Regions from separate parts of the Homo sapiens genome. Here regions 1, 3, 4, 5 and 6 are each linked to region 2. The links are contacts of gene promoters, found by promoter capture Hi-C in blood cells and fetal thymus (Javierre and others, 2016). All regions are on one chromosome and are shown on one strand. The core of a region is centred on a gene start or on the middle of the fragment in contact, and the rest is flanking DNA. Distances in the headings are between cores, read along the strand shown. Region 1 overlaps SOD2 (superoxide dismutase 2). Region 2 holds the start of TAGAP (T cell activation RhoGTPase activating protein). Region 3 has its middle 32 kb from the start of IGF2R. Region 4 has its middle 7.9 kb from the start of SOD2. Region 5 has its middle 3.2 kb from the start of IGF2R. Region 6 overlaps WTAP (WT1 associated protein).

Evidence for each region. The method cuts DNA at HindIII sites, captures the fragments that hold promoters and counts their contacts. A CHiCAGO score of 5 or more calls a contact.
Region 1: a contact is called between a fragment that was not itself captured here and the fragment with the promoter of TAGAP in region 2, in 2 of 17 cell types (M2 macrophages and megakaryocytes). The highest score is 6.1, in M2 macrophages.
Region 3: a fragment that was not itself captured here is called in contact with the fragment with the promoter of TAGAP in region 2 in 1 of 17 cell types (neutrophils); the score reaches 5.3 in neutrophils.
Region 4: a fragment that was not itself captured here is called in contact with the fragment with the promoter of TAGAP in region 2 in 3 of 17 cell types (M0 macrophages, M2 macrophages and neutrophils); the score reaches 9.7 in M0 macrophages.
Region 5: a contact is called between a fragment that was not itself captured here and the fragment with the promoter of TAGAP in region 2, in 2 of 17 cell types (neutrophils and M0 macrophages). The highest score is 6.6, in neutrophils.
Region 6: a contact is called between a fragment that was not itself captured here and the fragment with the promoter of TAGAP in region 2, in 1 of 17 cell types (megakaryocytes). The highest score is 5.5, in megakaryocytes.

The regions. Positions count from the first base shown.
Region 1 is chr6:159,679,211-159,683,605 of GRCh38, reverse strand. It overlaps SOD2 (superoxide dismutase 2), which reads left to right. Exons shown (of 5, transcript NM_000636.4): 5 at 968-4,395. The coding sequence ends at 1,113. Among named protein-coding and RNA genes, the nearest start is that of SOD2, 12 kb to the left of the region's middle. The HindIII fragment of the contact is 1,374 bases long and covers 2,080-3,453 here.
Region 2 is chr6:159,042,477-159,047,109 of GRCh38, reverse strand. TAGAP (T cell activation RhoGTPase activating protein) reads left to right here and starts at 2,119. Exons shown (of 10, transcript NM_054114.5): 1 at 2,119-2,231; 2 at 2,906-2,990; 3 at 3,079-3,132; 4 at 3,455-3,521. The coding sequence starts at 2,964. It overlaps TAGAP-AS1 (TAGAP antisense RNA 1), which reads right to left. Exons shown (of 5, transcript NR_183546.1): 5 at 4,054-4,633. RefSeq lists an enhancer at 4,416-4,633. The HindIII fragment of the contact is 8,846 bases long and covers 1-2,366 here.
Region 3 is chr6:159,935,160-159,939,407 of GRCh38, reverse strand. No RefSeq gene overlaps it. Among named protein-coding and RNA genes, the nearest start is that of IGF2R, 32 kb to the left of the region's middle. The HindIII fragment of the contact is 4,391 bases long and covers 1-4,248 here.
Region 4 is chr6:159,698,820-159,703,529 of GRCh38, reverse strand. It overlaps a transcript of SOD2 not described here. Among named protein-coding and RNA genes, the nearest start is that of SOD2, 7.9 kb to the right of the region's middle. The HindIII fragment of the contact is 1,628 bases long and covers 2,647-4,274 here.
Region 5 is chr6:159,963,529-159,968,196 of GRCh38, reverse strand. No RefSeq gene overlaps it. Among named protein-coding and RNA genes, the nearest start is that of IGF2R, 3.2 kb to the left of the region's middle. The HindIII fragment of the contact is 2,383 bases long and covers 1,828-4,210 here.
Region 6 is chr6:159,735,428-159,739,879 of GRCh38, reverse strand. It overlaps WTAP (WT1 associated protein), which reads right to left. Exons shown (of 8, transcript NM_001270531.2): 2 at 3,585-3,622; 3 at 835-890. The coding sequence starts at 3,614. It also overlaps a transcript of SOD2 not described here. Among named protein-coding and RNA genes, the nearest start is that of WTAP, 10 kb to the right of the region's middle. The HindIII fragment of the contact is 1,296 bases long and covers 1,679-2,974 here.

The DNA.
Region 1 (4,395 bases), core at 1,517-4,016, 640 kb before region 2:
CTACTTGAAATTATTAATAATAAATTACTAGTGACCTCCCTCACAACTGATCAAGACATACTGGTTAAGAATTGTTTTTGTAGAGAGAGCTATAATTTATTTTGAGTGTTTTTGTGTGTGCGTGATGGAGTCTCACTCTGTTGCCCAGGCTGGAGTGCAGTGGCGCAATCTTGGCTCACTACAACTTCCGCCTCCCAGGTTCAAGCAATTCTCCTGCGTCAGCTTCCTGAGTAGCTGGGATTACAGGCGCCTGCCACCTCGCCAGGCTAATTTTTTGTATTTTTAGTAGAGGCGGGGTTTCACCATGTTGGCCAGGCTGGTCTCGAACGCCTGACCTCAAGAGATCTGCCTGCCTCGGCCTCCCAAAGTGCTGGGATTACAGGCCTGAGCCACTGCGCCCAGACCAAAAGTTTTTTTAAATGGATGTTTTACAGATAGAACTAAATTCTTCATTTACCTCACTTAATTTCTGAAAACACTGTGTCCTCCAACTGCTCTGTATTCCCAAAGATTAAAATTAGCCTTGGGGAGCAGAGCTGGTTCCTCGTAAACCCCTGTGAGTGCCCAGACCCTTTGGAGGAGGTTCTCAGTGGGCTTTTGCCTGCTCCCACAGATGTAACCCACCCTTCCTGCTGCTCCTAAGACCACCATGAGGAAGGCTGGGAATTGGCTCTTGAATTAATTTGTTGGTATTTTTAAGAATAGCTATTAAAGTACTGTTGTTAATTTTCCCAAGTCTATTTTATTGTTAGTATTTGTCACATTTTCTTTGTAAACAGTGAATTAAAAATATTTTATAGGAATATTCATTCTTATCTAGATTTCCTACTTATATAAAAAAACAAGTGAATGAGATTGTTACAAAGGGTAATTTTGTGTGAGTAGAATAATAAAAGTTGAAATTGAGAAGATGCAATGTTTTAGACTGAAACTGATGGTTGGTTTGTTTTCCCCTTCTTTCTAACAGGCCTTATTCCACTGCTGGGGATTGATGTGTGGGAGCACGCTTACTACCTTCAGTATAAAAATGTCAGGCCTGATTATCTAAAAGCTATTTGGAATGTAATCAACTGGGAGAATGTAACTGAAAGATACATGGCTTGCAAAAAGTAAACCACGATCGTTATGCTGAGTATGTTAAGCTCTTTATGACTGTTTTTGTAGTGGTATAGAGTACTGCAGAATACAGTAAGCTGCTCTATTGTAGCATTTCTTGATGTTGCTTAGTCACTTATTTCATAAACAACTTAATGTTCTGAATAATTTCTTACTAAACATTTTGTTATTGGGCAAGTGATTGAAAATAGTAAATGCTTTGTGTGATTGAATCTGATTGGACATTTTCTTCAGAGAGCTAAATTACAATTGTCATTTATAAAACCATCAAAAATATTCCATCCATATACTTTGGGGACTTGTAGGGATGCCTTTCTAGTCCTATTCTATTGCAGTTATAGAAAATCTAGTCTTTTGCCCCAGTTACTTAAAAATAAAATATTAACACTTTCCCAAGGGAAACACTCGGCTTTCTATAGAAAATTGCACTTTTTGTCGAGTAATCCTCTGCAGTGATACTTCTGGTAGATGTCACCCAGTGGTTTTTGTTAGGTCAAATGTTCCTGTATAGTTTTTGCAAATAGAGCTGTATACTGTTTAAATGTAGCAGGTGAACTGAACTGGGGTTTGCTCACCTGCACAGTAAAGGCAAACTTCAACAGCAAAACTGCAAAAAGGTGGTTTTTGCAGTAGGAGAAAGGAGGATGTTTATTTGCAGGGCGCCAAGCAAGGAGAATTGGGCAGCTCATGCTTGAGACCCAATCTCCATGATGACCTACAAGCTAGAGTATTTAAAGGCAGTGGTAAATTTCAGGAAAGCAGAAGTTAAAGGCAAAATTGTAAATCAGTCGAGATCGGGTGCCTTCAGGGTGGTATGGCTGTATACCAAAATTGTAAATCACTACATGAAGCTTATATATTGGTTTGGCCTGAAAGGTGAAGTGGGGTAGGCAGGGGGCGGGCTTACAGGTTATGGTGGATTCAAAGACTCCCTGATTTGTGATTGGTTAAGGAAGCAAAGCTTTGTCTAAAAACTTGGGGTCCGCAGAAAGGAACATTAAGGTCTGGCCAGGCCCCTCAGGAAGAAACTGAGAGCAAAGAATGGAGGTCAGAGTTTAGTCCCTGGTGTTCCCCCTTATCTGACGTCTGTGTGAATCCATTTGGTGGGGGTCTGGGTTTCTGAAAAGTAGCTCAGGGGCACGTGTTAAGGATGTCTCTAGGTGACTCTAACTTCCCTGGCTATTGTTTGAAACTGTTATGACCTTCTTGCTTATCAGCTTGCTGGTTTCCTTCTCGGGGCGAGCTGGGTGCCTGGAGTTTTCGGTGAAGGAAACTCAAGATTCTCCTTTATTTCTGTGCTTGTGGGAATCCCCCTGGCACACCCCAAAGAGGGGTCCCTGCTCCGTCTCACAGGGATCTTTTTGTATATTTGGCTTAGCATCATACATTTGCCATGTTGTTTCATCATCTGCCTAATTTACTGTTTTTGAATATTTCATTTGTTTCTAATTGTTACTACAGATAATGCTGGGGTGAGCAACTCTGTGTACATAGGTTTATCTCCTATTGGAATATTTTCTTTATATAGGCGTTTTTTTTTTTTCTTTTTTTTTGGAGACAGAGTCTTGCTCTGTTGCCCAGGCTGGAGTGCAGTGGCGCGACCGGAGCTCACTGCAACCTCCACTTCCCGGGTTCAAGTGATTGTCCCACCTCAGCCTCCTGAATAGCTGGGATTACAGGTGCATGCTACCATGCCTGGCTACTTTTTGTATTTTTAGCAGAGACAGGGTTTCACCATGTTGGCCAGGGTGGTCTCGAACTCCTGACCTCAAGTGATCCGTCTGGCTCAGCCTCCCAAAGTGCTGGGATTACAGGTGTGAGCCACTGCACCTGGCCTATATAGGCTTTTTTCTTAAACCTATTTAGTAATGTTTTCCCAAGTTTATTTTTTATTTTTAATTTTTTCCCCAAGTTTATTTTTCTATTTTTTTTTCATGGAAAAATGGGGTAACTTAGCAGTTTCAATATTGAAGACTGAAGTTTAAAAAAAATTTAAATTCAAGGTACTTTTAAAATTCAGTTAGAAAAGTAGGCTTTAAAAATTATTAGAGACAAGAGTACCAAAGCGGTGTGTGTATGTGTGTGTGTGTATGCATGCTTGTGGATTGGAAAAACTTTGGAGACTGATTACTTTTCATTATATATGTGTCACAGTGAAACAGCTTTTATGTGTCATGTAAGATTACTGCTTGCCTCTCTAAGGAAGGTCGTGACTGTTTAAATAGACGGGCAAGGTGGAACCTTTTGAAAGATGAGCTTTTGAATATAAGTTGTCTGCTAGATCATGGTTTGTATTGAACTAACAAGGTTTGCAGATCTGCTGACTTATATAAAGCTTTTTGATTCCTACTAAGCTTTAAGATTTAAAAAATGTTCAATGTTGAAATTTCTGTGGGGCTCTATTTTTGCTTTGGCTTTCTGGTGAGAGAGTGAGGAAGCATTCTTTCCTTCACTAAGTTTGTCTTTCTTGTCTTCTGGATAGATTGATTTTAAGAGACTAAGGGAATTTACAAACTAAAGATTTTAGTCATCTGGTGGAAAAGGAGACTTTAAGATTGTTTAGGGCTGGGCGGGGTGACTCACATCTGTAATCCCAGCACTTTGGGAGGCCAAGGCAGGCAGAACACTTGAAGGAGTTCAAGACCAGCGTGGCCAACGTGGTGAAACCCTGTCTCTACTAAAAATACAAAAATTGTTTAGCTCTGTTTTTCATAATAGAAATAGAAAAGGTAAAATTGCTTTTCTTCTGAAAAGAACAAGTATTGTTCATCCAAGAAGGGTTTTTGTGACTGAATCAGCAGTGCCTGCCCTAGTCATAGCTGTGCTTCAAAAACCTCAGCATGATTAGTGTTGGAGCAAAACAAGGAAGCAAAGCAAATACTGTTTTTGAAATTCTATCTGTTGCTTGAACTATTTTGTAATAATTAAACTTTGATGTTGAGAAATCACAACTTTATTGTACACTTCATTGCAACTTGAAATTCATGGTCTTAAAGTGAGATTTGAATTTCTATTGAGCGCCTTTAAAAAAGTAATACCAAACCATAAAGTTAAAATCTATGTATATTGAGTCATATCTAAAACCACGTATAAACATAAATTGTATTTCCTGTTTTAATTCCAGGGGAAGTACTGTTTGGGAAAGCTATTATTAGGTAAATGTTTTACAAATTACTGTTTCTCACTTTCAGTCATACCCTAATGATCCCAGCAAGATAATGTCCTGTCTTCTAAGATGTGCATCAAGCCTGGTACATACTGAAAACCCTATAAGGTCCT
Region 2 (4,633 bases), core at 870-3,369:
CATTTCTGCAGGTCATCAAACCATTCATGTTATGTATTTTTAAAAGATGCTGAGGCTGGGCACAGTGGCTCACATCTGTAATCCCAGCACTTTGGGAGGCCAAGATGGGTGGATCACCTGAGGTCAGGATTTCCAGACCAGCCTGGCCAACATGGCGAAACCCCATCTCTACTAAAAATACAAAAATTAGCCAGGTATGGTGGCGCGTGCCTGTAATTCCAACTACTCAGGAGGTTGAGACAGGAGAATCACTTGAACCCAGGAGGCAGAGGTTGCAGTGAGCCGAGATCACGCCATTGCACTCCAGCCTGGGTGACAAGAGCGAAACTCCATCTCAAAAAAAAAAAAAAAGAAAGAACAGTAAGTACATTAAGTTTCTTACAAAAATTTGAAAAGTCCGTTTGTCGGGAAAAAAAAAAGTTTAGAAAATACATACTAGCAATGAATATACATCACATATATATTCTATGATATATAGAACATTATAGTAATATTCTATTTTGGCTATTTTATAAGGAAATGTATATATTCAGAAATTAGTTATTTAGTACCTACTATATGCCTAGCACTAGGCTGGGCACAGCGTAAATGCCCTTTTTCAATTAAAAAAATCAGTGAGTTCACTTTGGAGGTTTATAAAGGCAGGAGAGGGATGCTGAAAGAGTGGTGGCCTCTACAGCTGCCCTGGGAACACTGGGTGAACTCTGGCACTGTGGTGGCTTTCAGAGAGGGAGCCCCCAGCTGGAAGCCTGAAAACCAGGATCTGTCCCTAGGTCCCCACCGAGCCGCTAAGTTACAGAGCAAATTTCGACCTCTCTGTGCTTCGGTTTCCCAAAGTCTGCCCCATAATCACCTCCTTTCAGTAAAATGACAAAAGAACTGACAATGCGGAAAAGTCTTAAAATTAAAGATGCTGATGATAAATGAAGCCAAGTTATTTTAAAACTTTTTATTGAAAAATTACATAAATAGGGAAGTGTGCACATAAGCCTAGCACCACCCAGATCAAGAATGGACCATCACCAAGCCCCCCGCTGGCCCCTGGAAGTCATTACCATCCCCTCTGGGAAACTGCTACTCTTGCTTCCAACAGCACAGACGACTTTTGCTAATTTTGTGCTTTGCATTAATGGGAGCCGGCAGGATATACACTTTCACGTCTGGCTTCTTTTGCTCAGCGTCATATTATGAGATCCAACCATATTGTTGGCTATAGTCATAGGCTGTTCATTATCAGTGCTATACAACATTCATTCCCTATGTGAATGGATCACAATTTATGCATCCATTCTCGTGTCGAGGCATTTGAGTGGTTTCATATATAGCCCTTGATCTACAGAAAAGATCAGAAATTCTCTTATGCAGAAGAGTGATCCACAAATGAAATTCACCATCTCTTTCCTACTTTAAGTTGGTCTGATCAAAGGAATTTTTTTGTTTGTTTTCCTTCCGTGTCAGAACGACAGCTGCTCTGACTGTAAATTAAGTATCAATACTTTTGACCAGGAGTTACAGAAAGGAGGAGGGGGTTACTATATTGACAACTGACTCGAGGGAGTTTTCTTTCTACTTCCAAAGGAAACTAACCTGGCTTTGGACGGTGATTGTTCCTCAAGGAAGGGACTGTCTTGGGTTTCTTTCTGGTTCTGTAACAGTGTCCCACATCCAGGGGTGCTAATCAACGTGTGGTGCTGGTGGACAGAGCAGATGGCACGTGGGAGGGGAAAGAGCACCCAAACAGGATGCAAAAAGAGGCACTTGAAATTACCACTTTAGAAAATAAAGTGATGTTTATGCACAGAATAACACAATTTCTTGTTCACACATCCCACCTATGACATTAATCAGAGCCTTCACCTATGGGCTGAATGTCATGTTTTCCACTCCTAGTAGTTTACAGATTTTTTACTTTGAAGTGGAAGACACAAAAAAAAAAAAAAAAAAAAAAAAAAAAAAAGACATAGCTGCCCTAAAAGGAATGAGGAAGCGAGAGCTCTCCAGTGTCTGGCTGGCTCCGTCCGTGTGACAGCCCATGATGTTCTTTCCGGTCTCTGTAATATTCTGAATTTCCACCTGCCCGCCCCTTCGCTTATAATGCAGAGCATGTGAAGGGAGACCGGCTCGGTCTCTCTCTCTCCCAGTGGACTAGAAGGAGCAGAGAGTTATGCTGTTTCTCCCATTCTTTACAGCTCACCGGATGTAAAAGAACTCTGGCTAGAGACCCTCCAAGGGTAAGTACACTATATATTAACATGCCTAGAAATTACAAGCTGCCTCGCAAGTCACAGGTCACTCAGATCACAGGCAACAGAAAACAGCTATCCCGTGGAATATGCTCTCACTTTATAAAGTCTCAGGACAAAGCTTTGCTTCAACGTGAAGGCTGCACCTTTTTGGTGTAGGAGTTCTGTAAATGTTATCTTTGTTTCATGTTTACTATTTTAGCATCCTAGGGATATGTTTTTTTTTTTTTCCTTTTTGGATTAGATGAGAAAATCCATGCAAAGCACCTACTACGACAGCTGGCATATAGTCAGCACTCCACCAAAAAAGTTAATGTTCATGTTAATTTAAAATGTTAACGTAATTGATATCCAGATTATCTCTTGATGGAACGGAATAAATTGGTAACAACGTTTAGAGTGGTAAAGATAGTTGACTTAAATAATTTAGAAATAATTGTGTTCAGATGCTGCTCTTAACAACATACAACATCTGGTAACAGAACTGATTTTAAATGAAAACTTGTCTATGTAATAGTTTTTTCCAAAGTAAAGGCAAGTGAAAAAATAGCAAAAGAGAAAAATAAATAAATAGTTTCAAACTCTGTGCTTTGGCAAAGTGGCGCTGAAAGTGGCCTACTGTGTGAGTCCCTCCTAACTCCTTTCCATGTGATTCGTTGTAGACAGAGGCACAGCCACACGGGAGTGAAATCCACCCCTGGACAGTCAGCCGCAATACTGATGAAGCTGAGAAGCAGCCACAATGCTGTGAGTGCCCCTCTCACATTCATTCATTCACGTTTCCTACAGGCAAGGGCCAAAAGATATTTACCTAATTTTATTTTTTCTCTTTTAGTCAAAAACACTAAACGCCAATAATATGGAGACACTAATCGAATGTCAATCAGAGGTAAGAAAGCAATTTTTAAGACTTTTTATCTGTACTGTGAGAAGGTGGAAAACTTTGTTTTAATTGAATATTATTTGGGTTGAATAGTAATTATAAGAGTAGTAAACTAACATCACACATGTAGTAAATTAAGCACATTAATTAGGATCTTATATGATGACAATCAAGACCTTAATATTGCTTCTAGAAGCTAGAAAAAACATCAATGCACTCTACTGACTTCATTTTTAATATGAATAAAATGCTGTATGTGTGTTTTGTGGGGAAAGACTCGATAGGTTTCTTCAGTCACTATATTTAACTGAAATAAAAATGTTTTTAGGGTGATATCAAGGAACATCCCCTGTTGGCATCATGTGAGAGTGAAGACAGTATTTGCCAGCTCATTGGTGAGTTTTAAAAACATACCGATCTTTTATGTAAGTGCTAACAACCAGTGCTCTTGGTTTGCAAAACCACAGCGCTTTTACTCTACTAGGAATTTTTTTGTATAAGTTGTTCTGTTAAAGACCGCAGAACATTAACCCTTAAATGGCAGGTATGCTCCAACTCACTAGAGCAGGGAGTGCTGGGAAAGGAAAGAGCCTCTCCATAGAGAATCCCCAGTTCTGCCAAGCGTTTTTAATGCGGTTCAATCTCCTGGCCATGTATGTTTCGACAATTAGCATGCACACATTTGAAAAACACACAGTGTCTTTTCCATTTTCTTCCTTCTCTTATGGAGAATGCATCCAAGAGCCTATGAAGCAACTGTTGCTGATCTCAAATCCCAAAGGACCCACCATTCACTCTCAACTTTTTTCATAATGCATTTCATTATAGCGTAACCCTGACCCAGTTCTCCTGAACCATAAAGACAGGCCACTTCTTTCTCATCATGCTTCCACTTGCCAATCTGAAATGTATAGAAACAGATGCCAATGCATTTAGAAAATATAGCCTTTATAATTAGTAAGAAAGGAGAAGGAAGGAAGGAAGGAAAAGAAAAGAAAGAAGGAAATGTTTGAGATTGCAATATCCATTGCACACACATCTTGTGGATTTCAGAAGGACAGAATATCTTGATAACGTTTTGCTGATAATTCCCAGTTGCCAGATCTAGGTTCAAGGCTTCCCGCAGCGATTCGTATTTGCCTCTGTCCTAAAGCAGCAACCTGGAAAACCCAAGGTGACCAGTCACCTGGAAGGAAAAATGGTGTTAGCTCCCTCTAGTGGCTGTTTAGTGCCTGCGTGGCTGCAAAGGGTTGGAGCCAGCCCTGCTATGTGCCTTCGAAAAGATATTCAGCAAGTCACTTCCTCACCTTTTAAGTTTCGTTTTCTTCGCCAGTTAAAGGAGGAAATCAAAATAATCTATTTCATATCAGAAATTTCCTCTATAGTTATTCAGGCCAGTAGGTTAAGATGGTTGTTTATGATCAGCACAGTTAGGTTTTGCTAATTTTCTGTAGCAAACAGCTGGAAAGAGTGAAAACAGGAAAGGTGGAGGCCTTGAGGAACTCTG
Region 3 (4,248 bases), core at 821-3,320, 890 kb before region 2:
TAGTGAACGCATCCATCCCCCACAAAACTGTCCTTTGTCCCTCCTTTGTATACCTTTCTGCCCCCCGAAAGCAACCACTGATCTGTCTTCTGTCTCCATAGATTAGAGGGAATTTTCTAATTTAATATAAATGGAACCATATAGTATGTACTCCTTTTTATGTGGATTCTTTTGCTCAGCATAATTTTGACATTTGTCTCCTGTGTATCAATAGTTCACTCAGTTTTATTGCTGAATAATATCCCACTGTATGGGTATACCAGTGTATCCATTCACCTATCGTTGGACATTTATCAGTTTTTGGGGGGTAAGTATCTAGGAGTGGAATGGATGGAATGCATGGAATACATGGTGGGTCTACTACTTGCAAAGATGGTTGTACCATTTTATATTCCCATCAGTAGTGTCTGAGACTTCCAGTTTTTCTACATCTTTGCCAACACTTGGTATCATCAGACTTTTAAATTTCAGCCATCTTAATGGGTATGTAGTGGTATCTCACTGTGGTTTTACTGATAATGTCTAATGATGTAGAACAGCTTTTCATGTGCTTATTTGCCACCCATATATCTTCTTTGTGAAGCGTCTGTTCAAAGTTTTTACCCATTTTTAAATGGGCTTGTTTGTTTCTTCATTGTTGAGTTCTGAGAGTTCTTTATATATTTTAGATAAAGTCCTTTTCACATACATGCTTGGCGAATATTTTCTGCCCATTTATTGCTTATCTTTTCGTTGTCTTAACAGAGCCTTTTCAATGGCCAAGTTTTTAATTTTCATAAAGTACAGTTCATCACTTTGTTACTTTACGGATGGTGCTTTTGACACCGTATGTAAGAAATCTTTCTTTGCCTAACCCAAGGTAACAAAGGTTTTCTCCTATAATTTGTAGAAATGCTATAGTTTTGGATTTTACATTTAAGTCTATAATCTCATTTGTTAGCTTTTGGTTTTTGTTTTTTTAGGGTCTCACTCCCATTGCTCAGGCTGGAGTGCAGTGACATGATCTCAGCTCACTGCAGCCTCAACTTCCTGAGCTCAGGTGATTCTCTCACCTCAGCCTCTCGAGTAGCTGGGACTACAGGTGCACGTCACCCCACCTGGCTAATTTTGTGTATTTCTTTTAGTAGAGATGGGGTCTCCCCTTATTGCCTAGGCTGGTCTCAAACTCCTGGGCCCAAGTGATCCACCTGCTTCGACCTCTCAAAGTGCTGGGATTATAGGTATGAACCACCGCACCCAACATTTGTTAGTTTTTGAACACACTTTAAATTATGGATTCAAGGAGCTAAGTTTCTTCTTCTTCTCCTTTTTTTTTTTTTTTTTTTGCACCTGTTCCAGCATCTTTTGTCAAAAATCAGTTGTCCATATATGTGTGAGTATATTTCTGGACTCTCTACTCTGTTCCATTAATCTATTTGTCTATCTTTATGCCAATGGCATGCTGTTTTGACTGCAGTAGAGGAATTTGAGCATGAGAAGTTTAAAAATGGCTCTGAGGTCCATCTTATCCTGGAGATTTGGAATTCCTTTTTCCTTCCAAGTCAAGGGGGAAAGCCTACAACCTCTTCTTAAAGGTGAGCATGACCTGTCTTTTGCTCAAAGGGTCTTAGCACTGCTGCCAACAAGTTGCAACAGAGAATTTTCTGGGCCTTTGTGGATGATGGGAAGCTCTGCAGAAAATTCATCCATCATTGGCTCCCCAAACCAGCCTCAGAGCCAAGCTGACAGCAAACCAAAGGCCTCATGTAGCCACTCCCACTGGCAAGGAGGAGTGCCCTCTCCTGTAGGAACAAGGACTACGGGGTGTCCCTCGTTCTGGACACTTGCTAGCAGTTTCTGTAAAGATTTCCAGACACGGGGGCTGAAATTAGACATTAAAATCACATTTGGGAATATTAAAGAATTTATTGTACCTCCTTCCCGTCCCTCATTTCCCTCTTCCAACATCACTCTCGATCTTCAGAAATTGTGAGACAGTTACATGCTAAGAAGGAAGTAGGAAAAGAGGCTGTCTCTAGCTCTGTCTCCCTAGGAGCATGGTATTGATGACCTGCATGAGCCTGGCACTGGGCAATGGGCAGGGCTGGACAGAAAGTTAGGGGAGCAGGGAACGTGGAACCTTCTGTATGATCTGTGTGATTTGCCTGTAAATCTAAAACTATTCTAAAATAAAAAGTTGTTTTTTGTTAAAGGTCCAAGTAACTGTTTAGAAGAAAAGTTAGGGAAAGGAAAGGTTTATTAAAACTAATGAAAAACAGCCTAGCCATTATAAAAAGTAACGGCTCTCTTTTTTTATTATCTTCCCAACTGAAAAATGACCATAAATCTTCAGTCTTCCACAGACTCCTATTTGTTGGGTGTGCATTTCTTCAAGCTGTGAAACAGCCATAGATGGCTCCATGCAGCAGGAGCAAACGTGTTTTTGTTTCTCCCCCAACCCTTCCTGGTTCAAACACCCTTCCCTTTGTTCCTCCTTCTCCTCAACCCTGGTCAAGTCATTTTCTTTCTGGTTTAATCAGAGATAAGAAAAGCAGATCTTGAAAGTCTTTTCACAGGAGAATCTAAAAATCTCAGTGCTGATGGAAGGTATGGAAGCATGGGAAGTTAAAGAAGAGGACTTCCGGCTCTCATCATCTATCACCGCTGCTCTGGCATAACACAAATGGAGGATATGAAAACATCCATTCTGTGACCTGGGGATCAGCCCCCTGCTGAGAAAGGTCTTCTACTGAGGAGTGTCCCACTAATGGGATAATCTCACAGACGGGTAAACACAAAGACACAGGGCTCTGTCACACACTAGCACCAACCAGGTTGCTGTGTTTCCTGGGTCACAGATTTGCCCAGGAGAAACTCCATCCACTAAACCCAAGTGTTAAAATGAAAGCAAATACATTGGCGCCTGAACACAACAATGCATGCTACAGAGTGGAATTCCATAAATGGCCTTTTACTACAATAAAATCACAAGGAACTCAAGATAAAACCATTGAACAGTATGTACAATAAGGGCAGTGTCAGTCCAAGACTTGGAGACACTTACCAAATGGAATGGAGAAGGCATTAAATATTCATTGACATGTCAAGTCAGTCTTTCCACATAGAAGGTTCAATGGAGAATGTAGTGGAAAGACCCAAAGTGACCCCCAAAGACACCCACCTTCTGGGATCATGCCTCTGGGTACTCTCCTCCCCTTGAGTGTGGGCAGGACCTGGGACTTACTTGTAACTAACAGGATATGGCAGAGATAATGGGATGTCCCTTTATGATTAAGTTACCATATATATAAGTCTCCCTCTTAGGAGCAGACATACTGTACTCTCCCTTACTGGCCTTGAAAAATCTGACATGAAGTAAGTGGCCATGGTGAAGAAGCCCATATGGCAAGGAACTGCAGGCAAACTGCCATTGCTGAGAGCAGCTTCAGCAAGAATGCAAAGCCTCAACCCTGCAAGAAGAAGGAAATGAATTCTGCCAACAAGCTGAGGGAGCTTGGGAGTGGATCCTTCCCTGGTTGAGTCTCTGATGACACTGCAGCTGAGTCAACACATTGACTTCAGCCTAGTGAGATGCTGAAGCTCAGAACCCAGATGAGCCATGCCCAGGCTTCTGACCTGCAGAAACACTGAGATAATAAGTGTGTGTTGTTCTGGCTGCTAAGTTCATAGTAATTTGTTACGCAGCAGTCGCTGACTAATACAGGAGATAAGAAATAGTTTGACTTGCTAGCCATTTTTACTTTCATAAAAATGTTGTTTCTAGTTATCCTTTCATGCTATGAGAAGCATCCTTTCCAACTCCCACTGTCACAGAGGGGATCCCACATCTCAAGCTCATGGTGGTCCCCCAGCTGAACTAAATGACTGACTGTAGAAGAGGGGTGGTTCCCCAAAGGAAATACAGGGTCTCATTACCAAAAGAAAAAGGAGATAGAAAGTGAACATCAAAAAAATAGTAATTGCCCACCTGAGAGCCCTCCCCATTTAATTTGACAGGGGAAGGAACAGGTCCAGAGATGGTGAACGGCTTCCACGATCACACAACAACTTCATGGCAGGGCCAGAAGCAACACTTTTTCCTCATGCAGTCCAGGAGTCTTATCACCAGAGCACACTGTGTGACTAATGTCTTTAGATGATTTCATTTCTCTGTTATTTTAACCTATTTAGGAATATTTATTCAGTGAGAAGGCATGAAAATCAAAGTTAAATAATTGGTGAAGATAAATAAAAGTTTTTTAAAAATCC
Region 4 (4,710 bases), core at 2,211-4,710, 660 kb before region 2:
AGGAGTTTCGTCATGTCATTTGTATGGAATTCTGAGGCTTTGGTTTAAATCTTTCCTTGTGATTTCCATTTAGAAGTATTGTACTAAGTGAAACTTGTTAAATCTTCCTTTAAAAAAAAAAAAAGAGGTAAAGCCTCAACTTCCATGTAGTAAGCTGCTTTCTTTGTCCACTCCTTGAAACACACACAACAGAATTTCCATACATACATACAAAAACAGAAGCCCTTCACTCTTGTCGCCCAGGCTGGAGTGCAATGGCGCAATCTTGGCCCACTGCAACCTCCATCTCCTGGGTTCAAGCTATTCTCCTGCCTCAGCCTCCCAAGTAGCTGGGATTACAGGCATGCGCCACCACGCCTGGCTAATTTTGTATTTTTTGTAGAGACGGGGTCTCTCCATGTTGGTCAGGCTGGTCTCGAACTCCCAACCTCAGGTGATCTGCCCACCTCGGCCTTCAAAAGTGCTGGGATTACAGGCGTGAGCCACCATGCCTGGCCGGAAGCCATTTTTTTTAAAGATGAGGTTTCACTGTTGGCCAGACTGGAGTGCAGTGGTGCAATCAGAGCTCACTGCAGCCTCGAACCCCTGGGATTAAGCAGTCCTACCTTAGCCTCCTGAGTAGCTGGGACTATAGGCAAATACCACAACACCTGGCTTTTTTTTTTTTTTTTTTTTTTTTCGAGATAGGGTCTTGCTCTGTCGCCCAGGCTGGAGTGCAGTGGTGCCATCACAACATACTGCATCCTCTGCCTTCTGGGCTCAAGTGATCCTCCCACCTCAGCCTCTCAGTAACTGGGACTACAGGCGCACACCACCATGCCTGGCTTTTTTTTCTTTCTTTCTTTCTTTCTTTTTTTTTTTTTTTTTTTTTTTTTGGAGAGATAGAGCTTCCCTGTATTGCTGCTGGCTGAGGTTTTAAAAAATTGTTTATAGGCTGGGCAGGGTGGCTCACACCTGTATTCCCAGCACTTCAGGAGGCCGCGGAGGTGGGCAGATTGTCTGAGGTTGGGAGGTTGAGACCAGCCTGGTCATCATGGTGAAACCCCATCTACTTAAAATACAAAAATTAGCTGGGTGTGGCAGTGCACGTCTGTAGTCCCAGCTCCTAGGGAGGCTGAGGCACAAGAATCACTTCAACCTGGGAGGCGGAGGTTACAGTGAGCTGAGATTGCACCACTGCACTCCAGCCTGGGTGATAGAGTGAGACTCAGTCTCAAGAAAAAAAAAAAAAAAATTTTATACAGACAGGGTCTTGCTTTGCTGCCCAGGCTGGTCTTGAACTCCTGGCTTCAAGGGATCCTCCCGCCTCAGCCTCCCAAAGCACCGGGATTACAGGTGTTAGCCACTACAAATGCGTAGCAGCATAAAGGCACAACTAACTACAGAGAATGTAATCTAAAGTATGTTTAAGCTCATCAGATTTATATGATAAAGTAAGGTCCCTTATTTGGGGCATCCATATTTTATGCCCATAAACCATTGAACTGAATAACAAGTCTCTTTCTCAGTAGGAAAAACCTTAGATACAAGGCAGGGAGATTTTGTTCTTGTTCTCTAGGAAAAAGTGAGAGAAAAGCAGCTGTGTATAGCACTTTCTAACTGTAAAGGTCACACTTGGGCTGACGGGGTGGGTGATCCTCTGGCAAGAAGGGGAATGAGCACAGGTTCTCTCCTAAAATCCCCACTGAAATGACTCATAGAATATACAAATTGCTGGGGAAAAGTCCACATTCAAGCTGGAAATGTTGGGTACCATTCAAATACCAAAAATGTGGGAGATTTTGAGATTCTACCATAGCACTGATGTGTGACTATTAACAGTAACAATGACTCATGGATGAGATCATGAAGTGATATTCCTTTATTGCCCAATAGGTCATTAAATTTGCTTCATGGGCTTGTTTTTCCTTCGTCCCTGGATCAAATGCTGGTCCCATGACTTTTTTTTTTTTTTTTTTTTGAAACAGGGTCTCACTCTGTCACCAGGCTGGAGTGCAGTGGCATGATCGTGGCTCACTGCAACCTCGAACTCCTGGGCTCAGGTGATCCTCGGGCCTCAGCCTCCCAAGTAGCTGGGACTATAGGCATGTGCTATCACGCCCAGCTTGGTCCCGTGACCTTTTAAAAAATATATGTTCTTTAGTAATAAAAAGTCTTATAATCACTTTAAGTTAGAACACAGGCTCAATTCACTATCCAAAATGCTCCCATGTGAGAAGCAAAACTCTGAAAGTGATTTAAAGTCAAAACTTCATCACAGGCCTCTAGCAGGCCAGCAGCCTACAGAGGGAGAAAGATGTTGGCAGCTGGCAGGTGCCTTCTCTAGCGTCTTGCCTTCTGCTGCTGCTGCTCATCTTTGAGCATGCTAACCATGGTTTCTCAAATCTCCAGGGATTGGCCTGGAGAGGAAGCAGGTGTGGGGTTATATTTATATTGCTCACAGTGGTGGCATGTGGGTGGAATACAGGGAAATCTTACATATTGTCTTGCCTGACAGTTGCTTTAAGTGGACTCCTTCTCATGGTTTTGGAGACCACCCCATCACTGAGAATTTGTGTCTCCTAGAGTTCAGTCTAAAAGCCGAGATCCTACATTGTGTTCCAGGGAAGCTTAAGAAAATTAGGTCTCTGCTTGATTTGGAAAGCTTAGACTGAACCTAAATGAAAATCAGGTCAGTAAAAAGTCAGAGTTTAACAAAGATAGATGTTATGTCCCAGAGACCAGACATTTAAGCATTACTTTCAAAGTGCACTCAGAGAGATATTTGTTCTTCATTTAGTACTTAGAGACTAAGTCTTATCCATGCCATCAAAAAAATGGGAGTTGGAAAACATGCCACACATGTTAACAATGCATTGATTTTTTTTTTTTTTTTTTGAGACAGAGTCTCGCACGTCACCAAGACTGGAGTGCAGTGACGCAATCTTGGCTTACTGCAAGCTCTGCCTCCTGGGTTCATGCCATTCTCCTGCCTCAGCCTCCCGAGTAGCTGGGACTACAGGCGCCTGCCACCACACCCAGCTAATTTTTTGTATTTTTAGTGGAGATGGGGTTTTGCTGTGTCAGCCAGGATGGTCTCGATCGCCTGACCTTGTGATCCACCCACCTCGGCCTCCCAAAGTGCTCGGATTACAGGCGTGAGCCACCGCGCCTGGCCAACAATGCATTTTAACTTAAACCATGTAAATGAATTCAGATGAAGAACCAGAAAATTACTGGAGCTACTGCATCACCACACTAGTAATGTGTTGTCTCTAATTTCCATTAATTCTCTAAAGTGGAGTGGCATTTAAAGACACCTGGAAACCAATCTGATCCCTTAAATGTTTAATAATTGTCCCACTCTTAAATATGTTTTGTCCACATCTAACTGAACAGTGATCATTTTTAGTGGCTCACCTCTAGTGTACCAACATATAGCTGACTAGTTCCTCAAACTAAATATCTTTAGCATGAAAATGAAGTTTTATTTTATGCGATTTTATCTAATTTCTCACCAGAGGGTAAATGCAGATGTAAGCTGGCACGAGAGGAGGGTGATGCAGGCCAAGATGGATTGAGTCCTGGGAGTTGCCTGAGATGGGACATAGGTTCCCAGAAATACTGTGATATCAATACTGTTCTCAGTGGACCACAATCTGGCATGGACCTGGGTGGTATGCGAGGCCACTCCTCCTGTGTACCTATTTTGGCTGCTCCGAGTAGATGTACAGTGTGGAGTGCAGCCCCTGGGTTGTGCTGGCCCAGAGATTCAGCCAGCCAAGATCCTTATGCTTGCTCACAGCCCTCAGTGGTCTGGGCTACTCTTTAGTAGCTTGAGTAGCCCTTGAGAGTCATTCTTGGAACTGTGCACCTGAAATCAATCTTACTCCATGACAAATCCTGGGATATGAACTAGAAGTTGGCAGTTTAATAATGACAGATCCCACCCTTACATAGAATGCAGTGACCATGTTTGTTTTTTTTTTTCTCGTGGAGTAGTAATGGGGAAGAGGTGGTGTCCATTTCCATAAAGGAGGCAGGATGTTGCAGGAAGTCCTCATGAAAGGATCTTATGGAGGGCTCTGCCGGACTCTCAATATGGGACAACCCTTCTCTTTTGGCCTCCTGGGTCCCCAGCAAGTCTGAGTCTTTCACTAGACTAGGTTGGGAAGAATGAGCTGGGCCATTGTGAAGGGAAACTCCAGGAAGCTGGGTCTTCACTGAGGCTACAAAGCAAATGCCATCTAAGGGGCAGATGGACCAAGGTCAGGGCATAGAAGCAATGTCAAGCTTTAGGTCCAAGAGTGATGACCAGAGTCGTGTAAGAGATGGGACAGCAGGCCAATCAGGATTTGAGGAGATAGGGATAAGTTGGGAAGTTGTGTAGGGACAGAAGGAGGAAGAAAGTTTCAAATCTTGGGCTCCAATTAGATAAGGCTGGGCCCAATTCTTTTGGGTGTGAAAAATGTGGGAGAGGGAGTGGCAGCTGTTTAAAGGCACGGAGCTACACAGGTTTAACAGCAATACACTTGACCCTTGAACAACATGGGTTTGAACTGCATGGGTCCACTTCTATGTAGATTTTCTTCTGCCTCCACCCCCGCCCCCCACCCCCCAGACAGCAAGATCAACCTCTCTTCCTCAGCCTACTCACCATAAAGATGAGGAGGATGAAGACCTTTATGATGATCCACTTCTGCTTAATGAATAGTAAATATAATTTCTCTT
Region 5 (4,668 bases), core at 1,770-4,269, 920 kb before region 2:
TACTCAAAGACACTCTGGGATGTGGCAAAGCTGGAATTCAAACACATATAAATAATCATGACCCAATAATAGCTAACATTTCTTGAGCAAGTAATTATGTACGAAGTACTGAAGTGTTCGGACACTGTGATTTAGCTCATTTAATCCTAACAGTCCTGTAAGAGGGGGTGCCTTTATTGCATCCGTTTTGCAGATAAGGAAAGTGAGGAATGGAGAAATTAAATAACTAGTTAGTCTTGCAGCTAGTAAGTGAAAAAGCCCGGGTTTGAGCCCAAGCCAGTCACAGGCCTGTGACATAACCACCGTGCTATTAATATATTGCCCAAGAAAAGAAAGTGTTGTAGTGGGTCAAAGGGAGAGCTCAGGTGTAAACTGTGGACGTCGAAAAAGGGTTTGTGGTGACCGGGCGCGGTGGCTCGCGACTGTAAACCCAGCACTTTGGGAGGCCAAGGCGGGCGGATCACAAGGTCAGGAGATCGAGACCATCCTGGCTAACACAGTGAAATCCCATCTCTACTAAAAATACAAAAAATTAACCGGGCGTGGTGGCACACGCCTGTAGTCCCAGCTACTCGGGAGGCTGAGGCAGGAGAATCGCTTGAACCCAGGAGGCAGAGGTTGCAGTGAGCAGAGATCGTGCCACTGCACTCCAGCCTGGGAAACAGAGCGAGATTCCATCTCAAAAAAAAAAAAAAAGAAAAAGGGTTTGTGTTTTGCAACTCCAGTGTTATAATGGATACAGGCAAAGACCATCAGTAAATACTAAAACCATCTGGTGAAAAATTATTGTGAAGCGGAATATTCTCTTTGTCTCAAAGTATCACCTTCAAAGTATACTTCCTTAAAAAACACAAAATACCTCTTCACAATGGAAAGATCTGGTAGAACCACCTTAATCAAGTAATTAAAACTAGTATCACCAATTTTTAAAAAACTAGCATTTTCTGCTTTCTAAAGTGATGCAATAAAAAATGCTAAAGGGTAATATTTAAAAGATGGTATAATCATGACTCAGATGTAGAATGAACATGTATCAAAGGTATTCCTTAGCTCATTCATTAATGTGAGAACCGGTAACATGTCACAGCTGGTTCAAAGGAAAATCCAAGGAGAATCCAACAAATATTCAAGCAGTTAGGAATGCTGAAATAAGGTTGTCTATAGATGGAAAATTGGTCAGTAACCATAGGTCAAAAAACAGCTGCGTACGCAATAGACACAATTTGCATTTCTAAAGACAAAAATCGTGTATATTACCATCAGTAGTCTACAATTTACAGAGTTGTAAAATACCTCAAAGACAGTGGCAGACACAAGACCCCATAGAATCAGATAACCCAAAAGACTGTACTAAACAGCTAGCATTCCATTACAGTTGACCACTAATATTTTTGGTCCATTTCAAAGTCTTTCACAGTTATTCCCTACCGTACACACTATCACAAGTAGTCTTGCCAAGAAGTTCAACTTAATCTAATTGAGATAAAACAATCAAATTCAAACTGTGAAACATATGACAAGAAAACTGAACTGGACTATTGCAAAATATTAATGCGCTGAAAAAACAACTCTCCTCCAAAAAAAAAAAGAGAAAAAAAGTGGAAGTGCTACTCTAAATCCATGTAGCAAGCAATAACCTGTGGGTCAAATGTGGTAAGGCAGCTGTTTTGTAAATAAAGTTTTGTGGGAATACGGCCACACCCATGTGTTTATGTATTATCTAGGGCTGCTTTTGCCTGCAATGACACAGTTGAGTCGTTGCAACAGAGACTGTATGACCTGAAAATGCTAACATATTTTACCATATGGCCCTCCGCAGAAAAAGCTTGCCAACCTCTGTTCTAGATCAGTGGTTTTCAAAAGTGCGGTCCTTAGACAAGCAACTTTTGTGTCACCTACCAGCTTGTTAGAAATGCCATTTCATGGGTCCTGCCTCAACCTATTGAATGAAAATCTCTGGAGATGGGCACCAGGAGATTGCTCTAGCAAGCTCTCCAGGAGATTCTCATACACATGGAAGTTTGGCACCGGGAGATTGCTCTAGCAAGCTCTCCAGGAGATTCTCATACACGTGGAAGTTTGGCACCAGGAGATTGCTCTAGCAAGCTCTCCAGGAGATTCTCATAAACGTGGAAGTTTGGCACCAGGAGATTGCTCTAGCAAGCTCTCCAGGAGATTCTCATACACATGGAAGTTTGAGAACCATTGTCCTAAATTAAAGGAGACTAAAAAGGCATGACAAAATGCAATGCGTGATTCTTACTTGGAGCCTAGACCCAAAAATAGGAAGGTATAAGGGACATTTGGAGACCACTGGAAAATTTTTAATGTAAATCCTATATAAGGGACTTTAAAGCAGCAGTCCCCAACCTTTTGGCACCAGGCACCAATTTCGTGGAAGACAATTTTTCCATGGATGGTGGAGGGCTGTTGTGGGGGATGTTTCATCAGGCATCACAAGGACAGTCCACCCTAGACCCCTCTCATGCACAATAGGGTTTGCACCACCACTTATCTGACAGGAGGCGGAGCTCAGCGGTAATGCCCTCGTTCTCCTGCTGTGCGGCCAGGTTCCTAACAGGCCACAGACCAGTACAAGTCCATGGCCCGGAGGGTTGGGGGACTCCTGCTGTAAAGTCAAATACTGCAGGGCATAATTCTCCTGTATTTCATTTAAATTTTCTGAAAAACCTTTGAGGAAGCAGAGACTCACAGATATCAGCCTAAGACCCCCTGTTATAGGCTGAATTGTGTCCCCTAAAAGAATACGTTGAACTCATAACCCCCAGTACTTCAAGTGTGACCTTATTTGAAAATAGGGTCATTCCTTATGGATAAATTATGATGAGGTTATACTAGAGTAGGGTGGGTTCTTAATCCAGTATGACTGGTGTACTTTCAAGAAGTGGGCAAGAAACACACAAGGAGAAGGCAGCCATATGAGAATGGAGGTGCTATGCATCTACAAGCCAAGGAACACCAAGGATTGCCAGCAACACCAGAAGCTGGGACAAAGGCATGGAACAGATTCTCCCCTAGAGCCTTCAGAGGGAGCGTGACCCTGCCAATGCCTTGGTTTTGGACTTCCGGCCTCCAGAACTGTGTGAGACAATTTCTGTCATTTTAAGCCACCCAGAGGTACTTTGTTATGGCAGCCTAAGAACACAAATAGCCAAGAACACAAATGTCCCTCAAATGATAGGACAGATCCAGGCTTGGCATCCAGGTGCTCCAACCACCGCCCTGTTGTGAGGACCCAATCTTCCTGCATCTGACTTTGGAAACACAAGCTCAAATGACAGACCAAGGGCAGAAAGAGCAGCTACTGAGGATGTCCCTGCATGATGTCAAGAGCAATAGCAGGGACAGGTAACACTAATAGCTGCCCCTTTGGAACACAAACCATGAGCTATCAAACTGATGGCATGCACACATTGTTCTGAAACTCAAACAGAATCTCACCCCAAAGATCCAGGAACTTTTTAGAACACCCAGAAAGGAACATGATTCTACCAAAAGACCCTCAAAACACACAGTGATTCATTTTAGGCTTCTTGATTTCTAAGATCATAAACTGCCAAGAAAAAATGTACAGTAAATAATATTGAATCAATGTTAAATTTCATAAGATAAAGCTACTGTGATTACATAGGACGATGTGCTTGTTCTTATGTGATACATGCTGAAAGTGAAGTGTCATGATGTTGGCAACTTTCAAATGATTTCAGGGGAAAAAAAGAATATATGTATGAATAGCAAGCAGAGGTTAAAAATATTAACAGTCACAAATGTAGTGAAGAATATATCAGTGCTCTTGTACTATTCTTTCAACTTTTCTATAGGTTTGACATTTTTCAAAATGAGAATTGGGAAAGAGATCTCATCATGAAAGAGATTGCTTTTGAGTGAATCTGGAAGAATGGGGGAAATTTAGGGAAAGGACATTGTAGGCACAAAGAACAGCAAGTGCAAGGCCATGGTAAAATACAGAAGCTGTATTTGCTGTACAAGGCCTTTTGCTTAAGCAAAAGTCACATGGGAATAAAGAAAAACTACTTTTGGCCAAAAACTGTGCTAGATCCTGGGCTCATAAAATATAATCCCTCCCTCAAGGAGCTCGCAGTTTAGGACGTAGTCAATTTTTATATAAGTTTGAAAATTTTTATTGTGCCCAGCTCCTAGAGGATCTTAAATGGTCATCTAATAAGCTTAGATTTGGCTGGATATGAAGTAGGGAACAATAACAGCAGATACAATAATACATACTGAAGGCTCACTGTCAATACCATTCCTGTATTATATCATTTACTGTTAATACCAATCCCACCAAATAGGTAATTTTATTACCCTCCTTGAAAAGATGAGCAATTCAGTCATAAAGAAATTATATACCTTGCCCAAGGTCATGCAGTTGGTAAGTGACAGCGCTTGGATGTGAGCTGTATGATCTGGGACCAAAGCCCATGCAGTTAACTCATCAACTGCCTCCTCATTGAGAGATTTGGAGAAAGAGAGATGTTCACGGTGACACATCAGGAAAATCCATCTGGTTTTAAGATAGACTGGAAGCTAATTTATTAAAAGTATCACAATTAAGGTGACAAATTCGACAGCAGAAAGCCTTGTGTCCTTCAAAAACACCCAGTTCCCAGTTAGTTAACACCTGGC
Region 6 (4,452 bases), core at 1,077-3,576, 690 kb before region 2:
GTCCTATGTATGAGATTATGGCAAAAAAAAAAAAAAAAAAAAAAAAAAAAAAAAAGGTAAAAAGTGTGTTCATAATACAGTAGCTGTCCAAAGGTGAAAGTAGGAAATTGTCACACTCTAGGAAACAACAAAATCTGTGTTAGCCTATCTCACAAAACATCTTTTCTCTCCTCCGCTTTCAGCCTGTTAAAATACTTATTTTATTTTTATCTAAGTTATCAAGAAACTTACTAACCATAGCAATAAAATACAGAAAGAATATATTTAAATTACAAAACACAGAACATCCTACTTCCTGATTTCTTACACAATCTAAAAAGATTATACGTTGTACTTGACAATCTGCTTTTGTAAGACATTTACAAGATAACCGCAGAAATTCAGAACTGGAAGTCACCTTTAACAATAACTTAACCCAACCTCTTCAACTTACAGATGAGAAAATGAAGAGTATGAAGTTATATGAGCTGGTGAAGGTCACACTAATAAGAAAAAGTAACCTCACTTCATTAGTAAATTATGTATTTCTTCCATAAATATAAGTGCATCTTTTAGGATTACATTTCTTTTTCAAATGTTAAACACGAAAGGAAAAACTACACAAAACAAGCCATATATTTGTTAAACTTATAGCTTCCTAGTAGTTCTTTAAAGTGTTACGTTTTCCTCGGTGTTAATATAAGAAATAGGTCATAGTATGCTCAAAAAGTACATTAAATTATTTGAGGATAGAACAACATTAAAAACAATATCTGGCACAAAGACAATTACAGTGTAGAGTCACAATATAATGTTCTATAGAAAGACTTTGTTTTTGAACAGAGAACATTTTACCTTAGAATTAACTCATCTCTTGCCATAACTTTGAAGTCTGTTTCACTCAATCGAACCTATAAAGAGAATTACAATATGAATTTAGTGTTCTTCCTGAAGACACAAAGTTCTATAATGAGACCTATGAAACATCTCCCAAGTGTGAGATTTAAACGGCTCAGTACATATTATGATTTTTTGAAAAAGTATTTTATTACAAAAGTTTTTTTTTTTTAAGGTAAACTATTTGGTATCTTAACAATGGGCATCATCATTAGGAAAATGCACATTAAAACCCCAGGTATCACCACACACTGATTAGAATGGCTAAAATAAAAATTAGTGGCAACACCAAACGCTGGTGAGGATTCAGAGAAACTGAAGTTTCCTACACTGCAGGTGAGAATATAAAAATGGTATCTGAAGAAGTATGGCAGTTCCTTTTATTAATACAACTAAAAATGAATGTGCCATATAACTCAGCAGTTGCACTCTTAAACATGTATCTCAAAGAAATGAAAACATGCAAGCAGCTTTACTTGTAAAAGCTAAAAAACTGAAAACTATCCAAATGTCCTTTAACAGGCAAATGATTGAACTATCATACAGCCACACCATGGAACACTTTAAGCAATAAAAAGAAACAGGACTACTGATACATGAAACAATTTGTATAAGCCTTAAGGAAACTGTGCTAAGTGGAAGGAAAAAAAATAGTCTCAAAAAGATGCATACTACATGATTACATTTATATAACACTCTGAAGTAACAATTATACAAATGGAGATAAATTAGTGGTTGCCAGGGGTCAGGCATGGAGAGGGACGGGGTAGATGTGGCTATAAAAGAATAACTCGATGAAGCTTTATGGTGATAGTTCAGATATGTATCTTGATTAATGATGGTTACACAAAGCTAGACATGATAATAGTGCATATAGCTCTTCCCCACTTCCCCCAATAACAGTGCTAGTATAACGTGAAATGTGAATAAGCTCTGTGGATTGTACCAATGTCAATTCCCTGATTTTCACAGTTATTAGAGATGTCTGCTAGTCACGCAAGGTGTTAACAATGAAGCAGGCTCAGTGAAAGTTGCACAGAACCTCTCTGTACATTTATTTGCAACTTCCTATGAATCTATAATTATTTCAAAACAAAAAGCTGAAAGAAGGGCATAAGCTAACATGCTTCAAAAATTGAGAAACAGTATATTCACTACACCAAATAAAGGCTGTAAAGGTGAGATACCTCTCCTACCTCAGTATAAAATTAAGGCTTTGGCTGGGCATTGTGGCTCATGCCTCCTGCACTTTGGGAGACTGAGGCGGGAGTATATCTTGAACTCGGGAGTTCAAGATCAGCCTGGGTAACATGGCAAAACCCCATCTCTACCAAAAAATACAAAAATTAGCCAGGCGTAGTGGCACACCTGTAGTCTGAGCTACTTTGGGGGGCAAAGGTGGGAGGATCGCATAAGCTGGGGTATGAGGCCACAATGAGCCAAGATTGTACCACTGCACTCCAGCATGGGCAACAGAGTGAGACTCTGTCTCAGAAAATAAAAAATAAAAATAAAATAAAGGCTTTATTAGTATTCCCTTACAAGACACTTAAATTTTTTTCCTTAAAAATGTTTCAAATTATAATACTAACCAGTAAAATAGTATTACCATAAAATGGAACGAGGGAACTATTATAATGTAACATATTGAAAGGCTGCCAGAGGCAGCTCATGCCTATTATCCCAGCACTTTGGAAGGCAGAGGCAGGTGGCTATCTCTTGAGCCCGGGAGTTCGAGACCAGCCTGGGCAACATGGTAAAACCCCATCTCTACAAGAAATACAAAAATTAGCTGGGCGTGGTGGCACGTACTTGTAGCCCCCAGATACTCAGGAGGCCGAGGTGGGATGATCGCTTGAGCCCAGGAGGCGGAGACTGCAGTAAGCCAAGATTGCACCACTGCACTCCAACCTGGGCAAGAGAGCAAGACCCTGTTCCAAGGGAGGAAAATCAAAGGGTACCAGAGGGAGCACACAGTAATTCTCAGATTATGAAAGCATAATACAATCCTTTATTCATTTAATGAGTAATCTGACTCCACAATAGGAAACTTCTGTAATATCTAAATTATTCACTTAAATATTAAGTTTAGTAAGCTTTCCCAATTGAATCACAAATTCCTCCTAGAGACGATGTTACCTCTTTTATAACAGCCACTGTGTGTGTGTATGTGTGTGTATGTAAGAGTAATTAAACTCAAGGTAGGAATGCACAACAGGGGGAGATTTGAGACTAGACAACAAAACTTCAGAGAAAAAGGTAGAATTTGAAAATTAGCTATAACCATTTTTTTAATAAAGTAGTTTTTAATTACAATCAAAGGGATTTACACTAGGAAAAGAATAATAATATACTCATAATGTCCATTTTTGACATTATTTGTATATATGTACCTGGAAATATTTACATAATGAACATTAAGAGTAGACCTGGAAATATTCACATAATGAACATTAAGAGTAGACCATGGGAATATTATTATAACTAAAGTTTTCCAAAATCTGAAAATATTCTAAAAAATATACTGGATATAAGATACAATATCTGGCACACTGTACAACTCCAATGCTATTATTGTTATAAAGGCAAAGAAATGAAAAATAAGCAAACAACGATAATCCCTTCAAGTCTATTTTTTTTTAAAGTGCTTAAAAAAGCCCCCAAAAAACCCAAAACAAAACAAAAAAACCCAAAACCAAAACCCATACCTTCTTGGGAAGAGGTTCTTCGTTGGTCATCTTGAATCCTAAAAAAAAAAGTTGCGGAAAACAAGTTCAATTTATTTTCTTCCAGTGAAAGTAGGAATAAAAAATACTGACTCTTTCAAATCAATTTATTAGTGAACTAAATTACTGTTGAATAATTAGAATTTAAATAAACAATTTTAAAATAGTTTTAGATTTACAAAAAAGTGGCAAAGATATTACAGAGTTCCTATATACTCTGTACCCAGATCTTCCTTTGTTAACATCTTCCATCATTAGAGTTATTGGGTAGTTTTTACAAATTCCCTCGTAAAAAAGCTGATCAGCCATTCAAATCATTTGATGTCGCCATAAAGGGTGAAGAGAAATATAATGACCTCAAGTAGTATCCTACGCATGTTGCTAAGGGACTATAAAAGGGTAATACCAGTTTAAGTCTTTCCTTTTATAGCATTATGTTGTTAAAGTAAGGTAGTACCTACCACAGCCATAATTTACTACTGCCCAATAGTTTTTTAGATATATTATATATTTTATTTTTATTTTTTTTGAGACACAGTCTCACTCTGTCGCCCAGGATGGAGTGCAGTGGCGCGATCTCAGGTCACTGCAACCTCCGCCTCCAGGGTTCAAGCAATTCTCCTGCCTCAGCCCCCTAAATAGCTGGGACTACAGGTGCGTGCCACCACACCTGGCTCATTTTTGTATTTTTAGTAGAGACGGGGTTTCACCGTGTTGGTCAGGCTGGTCTCGAACTCCTGACATTGCAACCCGTCCGCCTTGGCCTCCCAAAGTGCTGGGATTACAGGAATGAACCACCACGCCCATCCTATTACATATTTTAAAATATATGTTACACTGGTTGGGCGTG